Linked DNA regions of Homo sapiens: region 1 is linked to region 2. The links are contacts of gene promoters, found by promoter capture Hi-C in human tissues and cell types (Jung and others, 2019). All regions are on one chromosome and are shown on one strand. Each heading gives the region's core, a stretch centred on a gene start or on the middle of the fragment in contact. The rest is flanking DNA. Distances are from core to core; before and after follow the strand shown. Region 1 has its middle 25 kb from the start of PIPOX. Region 2 holds the start of TLCD1 (TLC domain containing 1).

Region 1 (4,717 bases), core at 2,190-4,689, 340 kb after region 2:
CTGCCCTCTCCTGACCAGCTTCACAGGGATTCAGACCCCCATCTCAGTTGGCATCCCCCACTGCCCATCACCACTGCTTCCCTGCACTGTCACTCCTCCCATGGGCTCATCTGCTAGTGCCAGGGAACGTTAGCCCAGCTGACTTCTTCGGGGATCGGGGAAGGCTGAACGCAAATCTGTACAACTGTGGGCACCCAGACACCCATCGACAGAGGGAGCAGGAGAAGACCCCAGTGGTTGCTGCCAGAACTGTGTGAGCTGCTGAGAGATTCCCCGGTAGATTGACCCTACTTGCACATCACTCCTTCAATGAACAAATCAAATGAATCCTAAATGCTCAGGTATCTACCATCCTGGACTAGTTGAGTCTCCTCAGCCTTGGCCCATGGACCAACACAGGAATGCCCATGTTCTCCACGTGCTCCTGAGAAATAATTTCCTGCACCACTGAAGTGGATGCCCCCACCCTGCCGCACATCTCAGCCCTGTCCTCCACCCATTTCCGCTGGTGGCACTACTAGCTCCGGCCTCCTGCTCAGTTTGGGGCTCTATCTGTCTTCTGTGCTCCATTACCTTCCCCCATGGCCTCTAGGGGCTGGGGAGGGGAGAGTTGGAGGGGGGCTGCTTAAGAGATTTTTGGAATCAGTGCCTGCGCATCACCCGCTGCCATGAGTTATTTCAGCGCTGATGTTTGTCTCGAGCTGATTATTCCAGCCCGAGAACAGGTGGAGCAGCCTGCGGTGGTTTATTCGTCAGCCAAGGCCATCTGTTCCCAACAAGCTGAGATTTGTAGCTGATTTCTGCTGGGGAGCAAGGAGTAGGGGTGGGGAGGGAGAGGGAGATCACACCCACACCCCAGGGGACTTGCTCCTCCCAGACCTGCCAGGATGCCTCAACCCCTGGGCTTCCCTTTTACTAGGGATCCCACATTTTCCAATTTCTCAGAGAAACTCACTGGTCACTCAAGTCAGCAACAATACTTCCCTAAGGGGCTACACCTTCTTAGATGGAACCATGTATTAGAAGCACAAATCTACCAGCCAGGCACAAAGTCTGGCCACTGAGCCATGTCCCCACCTTGCAGATCTTAAAAAAAAAAAAAAAAAAAAAGTATATCACTATGACACAAATGTCCTAAATGACCTTCTCAACTCTTGGCTCCTCCTCATCCCAACCCCACTGCCAGTCCCTTTAACAAAAACAGCCTCACCTAAACCGATCACCTGCAGGGCTCTCAGCTGCATGGGAGGGCTTGATCTAGATGCTCTTGTCTCATCTGCGCTGCTCGCCTCCCCTAAATACCCTGTTCATGTTCCACCCTCCAATCTGTTCCTCTTCCAGCTTCCCTCTCAGCCATGCCGAGAGAAGCCTGCTGCTTTAAGAATGGCTTTCCCTGAGCAAGGGATCTAAGCAGTTTCTAAGCAGCTTTGCCACACGGTTTACCCCCTCCCGCCCACCCGCCTGCTATGATTTCTGTATATGAAATGTTGGGAAAGAAGTGATTCTTATAATCATGCTAATATGACAATTTGGGGCCTTCTTTGGTGTTGCTACACACATCTGTACTGACTTTTAAAAATTGTATGAAAACTTGGTATTGAAAGCACAGCCACTTCATCTATAACCCCACATCCCCAGGTAAAACTACTTATAGTTTTCAGAGGTCCCTTCTAATATTTATTTATTGATCTGTGTTTTCCCTTCTACTTTTGTCATGTCTATATGTAACCTTAGGAACCCATTAACAGAGCTGTAAGACTGCCTCACTTTCTAGTTGGTTCTCTAGGCTTATTTTGTCGGTTCCTGGGAGCAGAAGCTCCTTTCTACTATTAAAACCTGCCCAGTGGCTGAGTATGTTTCCACCAGAAACAGTAGCTCCCACAGATGTTCTCCGGAACCCACAAAGGCAGGCCATGAGACCTGTGCTTCCAGGGCAGAACCTTCCAGGGAGTGCACTCACTAGGGTCACTCTTCCTTGGACAGTAGTCCCCCAGCAGTCCTCAAGCAAGGGTGCCAACCTGCAGTTGATGCCAGGCCCCAGGGTTAAGATGAGCCATGAGACCTCTTTCATCACATACAATTTTATATTTGCCTGGCTGCCTGTCACTCACCGGTCTTTCAAAGTGCTAATGTTTCCGAAGCTATTGGCTATATCTTCCCCATGCAGAGATTTTTTTAAACTCCTTTTTTTCTTTTTGAGACAGAGTCTCACCCGTCGCCCAGGCTGGAGTGCAATGGCATGATCTCGTCTCACTGCAAACTCCACCTTCAAGGGATTCTCCTGCCTCAGCCTCCCGAGTAGCTGGGATTACATGTTCCCGCCAACACGCCCAGCTAATTTTTTTTTTTTTTTTTGAGACGGAGTCTTGCTCTGTCGCCCAGGCTGGAGTGCAGTGGCTCGGATCTCTGCTCACTGCAAGCTCCGCCTCCTGGGTTCATGCCATTCTCCTGCCTCAGCCTCCCGAGTAGCTGGGACTACAGGCACCCGCCACCATGCCCGGCTAATTTTTTGTATTTTTTTAGTAGAGATGGGGTTTCATCGTGTTAGCCAGGATGGTCTTGATCTCCTGACCTCGTGATCCACCCGCCTCAGCCTCCCAAAGTGCTGGGATTACAGGCGTGAGCCACCGTGCCCGGCCTAATTTTTGTATTTTTAGTAGAGAGGGGGTTTCACCATCTTGGCCAGGCTGGTCTCGAACTCCTGACTCCAGGTGATCCACCCACCTCAGCCTTAACTCCTTTTTTTTTTAAATTTCCATTTTCAAATTCCCTAGTGTCCTCTCTTTCCCAAATCCATTTGCTGCTTTTCCTAATCTAGTCAGATCATAGATGTGGCACAAAACATATAAAAATTTCTTAAAATGTGGAAACTCTTTGACTCTTAAGCCACTTCAAATATAATTTGGCTGGATAGTGTCAAAACGTAATATCCTTTTTGAATTTTCTTTTCTTCTAAAACTGTCATAGCTGACTTTTGATATCTACAGCAAATTCTATCTGCACATATAAGTATTCCACTGGGGGATTTATGTGACTGACTTCAGTCGCAAAGCACACACTCTTTTTGGAATCTCCCTTATGTTTATGACCCATCTCTGGGGCTCACGCTACAGAAGACTCAATTTCTCTGTACAATTCCTTCTAAACACATCCAGTATCCTTGTTAACTCCAAAATGGCTACTGCTCTGGAAATCTTTCCTCCCAGATCAAATAGCAGGGAATGGTCTGGATTGTTGTTGTACTGTAATGAAATTAGACTGAAGTGAATATAGCTTAAAATATGCATTCTGAGCGATGTGGAACTGTTATTCATATTGCTGGCACAGTGGGAGTGAAGTGAAAATGTGATAATATATGGGGGATGCTCTGAAAATTGTGAAGCGCGACGCAAATGTGAAGTAGATATTTTCCCCCCAAATTGCCAAGAAGCGTTTCCTTTCTGAGGCCAGGACTTGGCGAATGCCAGGCACACGCGATTTGAGATGAGGACCATGGTAGTGATTCTTTGCTTTCTTGCCTCTCACTGCATCCTCTGCCAAGGCCAGAATAGTTAGGAGACGCCTGGCCAGCTGCTGGAAGCAAGTTGAGGACTCTGCTTAGAAAGATGACATCACCCCTCAGCCTCAGTTTTCTTTCCAGGATGACGTCTTCACAGAGTTGTGATGGAGGTGAAATGAGATTTTGTAGGGCAAAGTGCTTAAGCGCTGGGGTCATCATAGTAAGTGCTCAACAAATGGGAACTGTTGTTGGTCCTTTTTTTTTTTTTTTGAGATGAAGTCTCTCTCTTGTCCCCTAGGCCAGAGTGCAATGACACGATCTTGGCTCACTGCAACCTCTGCCTCCCGGGTTCAAGCGATTCTCCTGCCTCAGCCCCCCAAGTAGCTGGGATTACAGGTGCCTGCCACCACGCACGGCTAATTTTTGTATTGTTTTTAGTTGAGATGGGGTTTCACCATGTTGGCCAGGCTGGTCTTGAACTCCTGACCTCAGGTGATCCACCCTCCTCGGCCTCCCAAAAGTACTGGGATTACAGGCGTAAGCCACCGCACCCGGCCAATTATTGCTCTTATTACCCTCCTCTCACTACTGACAGGGTAGGAAGGGGCCTGTCAGTCCCAGTCACTGACTCTGGGCCTCAGCTCAGGCCAGAGTTCCAAGGGCCCTTAAAAGGGCGGGAAACATTATTTCCGGGTTGCTCGGAGAGTAGACCTGTCCTAATGCCGCTGTAATCATTAAAAGGGCAACACAGATGGGCTGCCCATCGGCGGCTTGAAAACCCATTTCTTTTAAGGGGAGTGGCTTCTGGGAAGTGCGTAAAGAACCTCCAGGCAGGGGCGGGACCAGAGGGCCACGTGCGCCAATGAAAAGTGGATATGCAAATATATATATGAATATGCTAACGAGCTCTCGGTTTCCCAGTGAATGGTAGGGCACAAGCCTGGACTGGCAGAGCGGGCTAGGGAAGAAGAGGAAATGAGAGGACCTCGAGGTTCAACCGAGTGTCTGAATGGAAACTAACTCCCGACAGACCATGCACAACGTTTCTTCCACAGCACCCGGATCTCGAAGCCCCACTGGGCATCAACTGTCAGTCCCTCACTAGGGGGGATGAAGGGGGAGGGCGTGGGAGATTCTTTTGGCTGTGGTAAGGAGCTCTGAATTTAGAAGCCAGAAGGTTCTTGCCAGCAATACTACCTTGTTTCACAGATGGGGAAA
Region 2 (4,989 bases), core at 97-2,596:
CCATGGCCTAGAGGGAAGAAAGAATAGGAGTTAGGGAACCCAGATGCAGACGCTTTCCTGGAAGTTTGGGGGGTGTGGCTATCAGATTGAGGGCTGGAAAATCCCAAATTTCCCCCTGGAATAATAGTTTATAGTGGGTAAGATGCTTTGTTTTGTTAGTTCAACATTACTAGATTTTGATTGCTGCTCACAGCTGGCTGTGGGTGATGTTCAGTCTAAAGAGGCAGTGAAACCATGGGTTGCTGGCCTCAGTGAACAAGTACAGACTGCCAACCTCCAGCATCCTAGCATAAGAAGTAGCACACAGGTCGGGGGTGGGTGGTAAGAAAACACGGCCTTCTCCCAGATTCAGAAAGACGGAGCTGAGACTAGATTACTGACACCAGGCCTATACCACATAGTCTGCTTCTCTCTTACCATGACGTGATGGACAAGGTATTCCCAAGAGGCTCGCGTCTGTCCGCTAGCCACGATGTCCACCGTATCGTGGATGAAATACCCTAGTGGAGGGATGGGGCAAGAGATCATGAACTGAACAAGCAGCTTCCTTCTCCCTGTCCCCAATTTGCCTCCCGCTTCCTGGGCAAGACCTACCCGCAGAGAAGCAAACGAGCAAATAGCCAGAAAGTGACCACGCCGTCTCAATCTCCACTAACATGTCAGGAGTCTGCCATACACTGGAAAGGAGGGAAGAGGAGGCTCTGCATTTCGGCACCCTCAAGGACCATCAACTTCTCGGTTACCCTTCGCAGCCCCGGGGGATCCTGGGCTCGCGCTAGTGGCTGACTGGGAAGCTAAGAGTGGCTGGGCAAAACCCAAGAGCCTCCAGTTTCCCAGGGGCGATCCCCCTCCCCTGGGGCCACTGCGGCTTTTGGTTGGATAGGATACCAAACGGGATCAGGTGAGACTGCGTGGCCTCAGCCCGCCAGTGAGCGATGGGGGTAGTAACACAAGAGCCGGCCCCGGCTCCCCGCTCAGGATCCCCTGGCCACCTCATTTCCACAGTCGCTCACTCACCACAGCAGTGCCCAGATCCCCGACACAATGGAGTGAGCGAAGGAGACGAGCAGGTTGTGCCAGCGCCAGGTGCGCAGGGGGTCGGCGCGCACGTGCACGGGTAGGGGCAGGCGACAGAGCGCGCGCCGGAGCGCCCGGAAGGTCAGCGTGGCGCCCAGGAGCAGCGGCAGGGCGGGGTGCAGCAGTCGGGGCATGCTGGCCCTCCCTGCCGTCCGCCCTCGAGGCCGCCTCCTAGGTCTGTTCTGGGAACCGGGATCCCTCTCGGGCCAGTCCAGGCCGGCCGCCTCTCCCGCCGGCCGCCAGCCCCACACAGTTGGCGAAGCCCTCTAGGCCCCTTGGCTCCTCCTCGCCCTCCCTGCGAGGCCTCTGCCCCCGCCCCCAGCCGCCCGCGCCCCCGCCCCGCCCGCCTGCCCCCGCCCCGTCCGCCTGCCCCCGCCCCTCAGGCGCTGCTGCCGCGCGAGCCGGGTGTCCCCGTGGCCTCTCGGCCACCGGCCGGCTCCCGCGGACTTCGGGTAACTAGGAGCTGTGCTGGGGGCGTCGTCGCCGAGACACCCCTCGCTGGCGCCTCCCGACTGCCGACGGAGTCCCCGCTGCCCTCGCTCGCCTGGCCTCATTAACCCGCGTCCCCACTTTTCCCCGGGCCACCGGCTACCCCGCCCTGGGCGGGTACCGCGAGAGCTCTCTCCGCCCTCTACTTTCTGCGCAGAGCTGGACGGGACCCGACACGCCCACGCCCCCTAAGTCCTGGTCCTGGGGTGGGCTCCGGAGCCCCGCGTCCGACAGTGGTCTCCGTGCAGACCCAGTGCCCCTACCGCACCACTCGCAGTCTTCTGGCCGGAGTCCCGTGTTTACCTGTCCCTCCCGCGCCCGCGAGGTGGGCACTTGGGAACTGCTGAGTAACCCATCGCCACCTCTTCCCGCCGGCTCTTAAACTCCTGGGGCCGGGCGGCTGTCACAGTCCTCCCTCAGACAGTCCCGGCCCTCGGCCCGGCTCCCCGGAGGCTGGGCAAGCAAGACCTCCGATTTGCCGGGACAGCTGGAGTGACCCGCGCTCTCCAAGCCGGTAGCTTGCAGCAGTTGCGGCTCCTAGCCACTAGGTGTCAGCCTGCCCTCACTGTGGCGCGGGCTCCCCCTCCCGCCTCCGAGCGAGGCAGCTGCTTTCGGGGAGAGTTTAGGTATAAACTCTGGGCGAAAGGAGGAGCAGCTGAGAGCCAGCGAGGGAAGTTAAGCGGAGATGAGAGCGGGGAGGGAGAAGAGGGTAGTAATAGAGGAGGGGCGGGAAGAAGCGGGGGAGGGGAAAGGTGCTGCGGGCGGGAGGAAGAAGCCGAGAAAACCTGAGGCGCAAGGACCCAGGGACCAAGCCGTTTGAGTGTTTTCCTCCCCTATGGCTCCAAGGTTACACATTAACCCCTGTGGGACTCTTAAGTCAACCAAAGCCCAGTCGGTTTCTAGGTGAGAACACGGGTGTCCTGGGTGAGCGGCTTTCCCGCCCCTCCCCTTGGCTCACAGAGCTGCTCTGTCCGCCGGCCGACACCGGCCTGAGCCAGCGCCCTTCCAGCAGTCATTCCACGTGGGTGGGTTTGGATACCCTTGCGAGAGCCAGGACAGGGGCAGAAGATAAAACGCCCCTTTCCTCACACCCCTTGCCCACTCTGATACAGGGACGCTAACCTTCAGCTAGTGACCATCCTCCTCCTGAATACTGATGTTTTCTTTCTTTCTTTTTTTTTTTTTGAGATGGAGGCTCACTCTATCGCCCAGGCTGGAGTGCAATGGCACGATCTCGGCTCACTGCAACCTCCGCCTCCCAGATTCAAGCGATTCTCCTGCCTCAGCCTCCCGAGTAGCTGGGATTACAAGCGCGCGCCACCGTGCCCAACTAATTTTTGTATTTTTAGTAGAGACGAGGTTTTACCATGTTGGCCAGGTTGGTCTCAAACTCCTGACCTCAGGTGATCCGCCCGCCTCGGCCTCCCCAAAGTGCTGGAATTACAGGCGTGAGCCACCGCGCCTGGCCGAATACTGAGTTTTTCTAGAGCTCCCGCAGAGCAGGAGCCCGGGAGAACCTGGAATTAACCTCACTTCCGGTAAAGAGCCTAGCTGGTCACACTAACCAGCCCCCTGCCTCTAGGCTTTTGCCTTGAGCTCATTTCGGCGAAACCGCGGTCTTTCCTTCTCCCCTTGATGCTTTCAGGTACTGACCCACTACCGCCCCCATCTTCCCCCATGGGAAGATGAGCACTGAGGGCAGATTACCCTCCTGCAGCGCGTGTGTGAAAGGGGAGTTGAGAGTGCTGACGAGCGCGGCGCTCACTAGTCGGGACGGCCCGAGACCGTGTCATGTCCTCTTCAGGTGAATCAACTTGCACGACTTGGGATTTCCCCCGTCCCTCCCCAGGCAAACACGAAACCAACCCTGCTGCCTTCTCCCAGGAGCGCTGGTCTCGGTCGTTTTGGGTGTGTTTATCGTTTGCGTGCCAAGGAGAACCCGCTTTCTCCTGAAATAGCGTCACTCGTGGGCAAGAAGGGGGTCAATCTTCTCTTCCCACCCCTTCCCGGCCTGTGGGGTTTAACTCTCGGGAACGCGACATCCTTTTAGTCTAGCAAGCTTTACAAGGGCTGGGTATATGTGTGGGAGGGGCGGGTACCGTGCCCGCCATTGCGGGCGCGCCCTATTTTCTTGCCCTATTCTTGGACACTGCGTGGGGCAGGGTCGTGAGGGGAAAAGTGACGGCGTGTCGCAGCGGGAGGTGTGTGGTGCAGGCCCACAAATACGGACGCGTGGCGGAACCCACACCTAGGGCGCTGGCTCCGCCCCGCAAGCCGCTCGCCGTGAAGGGGCGGGGCCCAGAGTGGGTGGGTCCGCGCACGCGCCGCGTGGGGGACGGAAGTGAAACTCTAAGAAATGAGATGGAGAAGTACGAGCGGATCCGAGTGGTGGGGAGAGGTGCCTTCGGGTGAGCCAGGGCTCTGGGGGAGGAAACTGCTAGGGGATAGGGAAAATAAGCCCCAATTCCGCCCGCGAAGTCGCCGCCCGCCTAATCCCGCCCCAAGGCGTGAGCGCCACTCTGGGAAGCCCCGCCCAAGCTTCCGGTCCCAGTCCCCCGGGGAGACTCCGCCTCTACGGAGGCCACGCCCCTGACAGGCCCATTGCTCCGCCCACTGAGTTATGTTAGCTTCTTTATTCATTCGTTCAACAAATACTGAGTGCCAGCTATGTATGTCAGGCTTTGGCCGCTGGGTATATAGTTAGAACCGGAACGGGCGTGGTCTTTTCCCTCTTGGAACTTACTGACTGTGGGAAAGTTATACAATAAACAAAACATTATGAAGTAAGAAGTTATAGCAGTTATGAAGTGTTATTAGCAGGTTGTGAGGATAGAGTACATTACCAGTGAGAATACTTATATGAGATGGTCAAGGAAGAATTCTCTGAGAAGGGAGATTGCTTGCTTGCTTGATTGATTTTTAAGACAGAGTCTCCCTCTGTCACCCCGGCTGGAGTTCAGTGGCACGATCTTGGCACACTGCAACCACCACCTCCTGGGTTCAAGCAATCGTTGTGCCTCAGCCTCCCGAGTAGCTAGGATTACAGGCGTGCGCCACCATGCCCGGCTAAATTTTTTGGATTTTTTTTTTTTTTTTTTTTTTTTGAGGCAGTCTCACTCTGTCGCAGTGGCGCGATCTCGAGTGCAGTGGCACTATCTCAGCTCACTGCAACCTCTGCCTCCCTGGTTCAAGCGCTTCTCCTGCCTCAGCCTCCCGAGTAGCTGGGACTACAGGCACGCGCCACCATGCCCAGCTAATATTTTTTGTGTTTTTAGTACAGATGGGGTTTCGCCATGTTGGCCAGGCTGGTCTCAAATTCCTGACCTCAGGTGATCCGCCCGCGCCGGCCTCCCTAAGTGCTGGAATTACAGGCGTGAGCCACCGCGACAGGCCAGAAGTGAGATTTAAGGCCAAGACTTGAGG

The links. Contacts are between HindIII fragments. The study calls those that stand out against the background at their distance.
Region 1: a fragment that was not itself captured here is called in contact with the fragment with the promoter of TLCD1 in region 2 in 1 of the 25 tissues and cell types used here (mesenchymal stem cells).

Annotation. Positions count from the first base shown.
Region 1 is chr17:29,065,490-29,070,206 of GRCh38, forward strand. No RefSeq gene overlaps it. Among named protein-coding and RNA genes, the nearest start is that of PIPOX, 25 kb to the left of the region's middle. The HindIII fragment of the contact is 5,950 bases long and covers 465-4,717 here.
Region 2 is chr17:28,724,887-28,729,875 of GRCh38, forward strand. It overlaps TLCD1 (TLC domain containing 1), which reads right to left and starts at 1,347. Exons shown (of 4, transcript NM_138463.4): 1 at 1,018-1,347; 2 at 595-677; 3 at 418-500; 4 at 1-7. The coding sequence starts at 1,211. It overlaps NEK8 (NIMA related kinase 8), which reads left to right and starts at 3,902. Exons shown (of 15, transcript NM_178170.3): 1 at 3,902-3,974. The coding sequence starts at 3,928. RefSeq lists enhancers at 159-882, 246-545, 666-715, 883-1,606, 1,607-2,330 and 3 more and a silencer at 1,126-1,655. The HindIII fragment of the contact is 6,466 bases long and covers 1-3,864 here.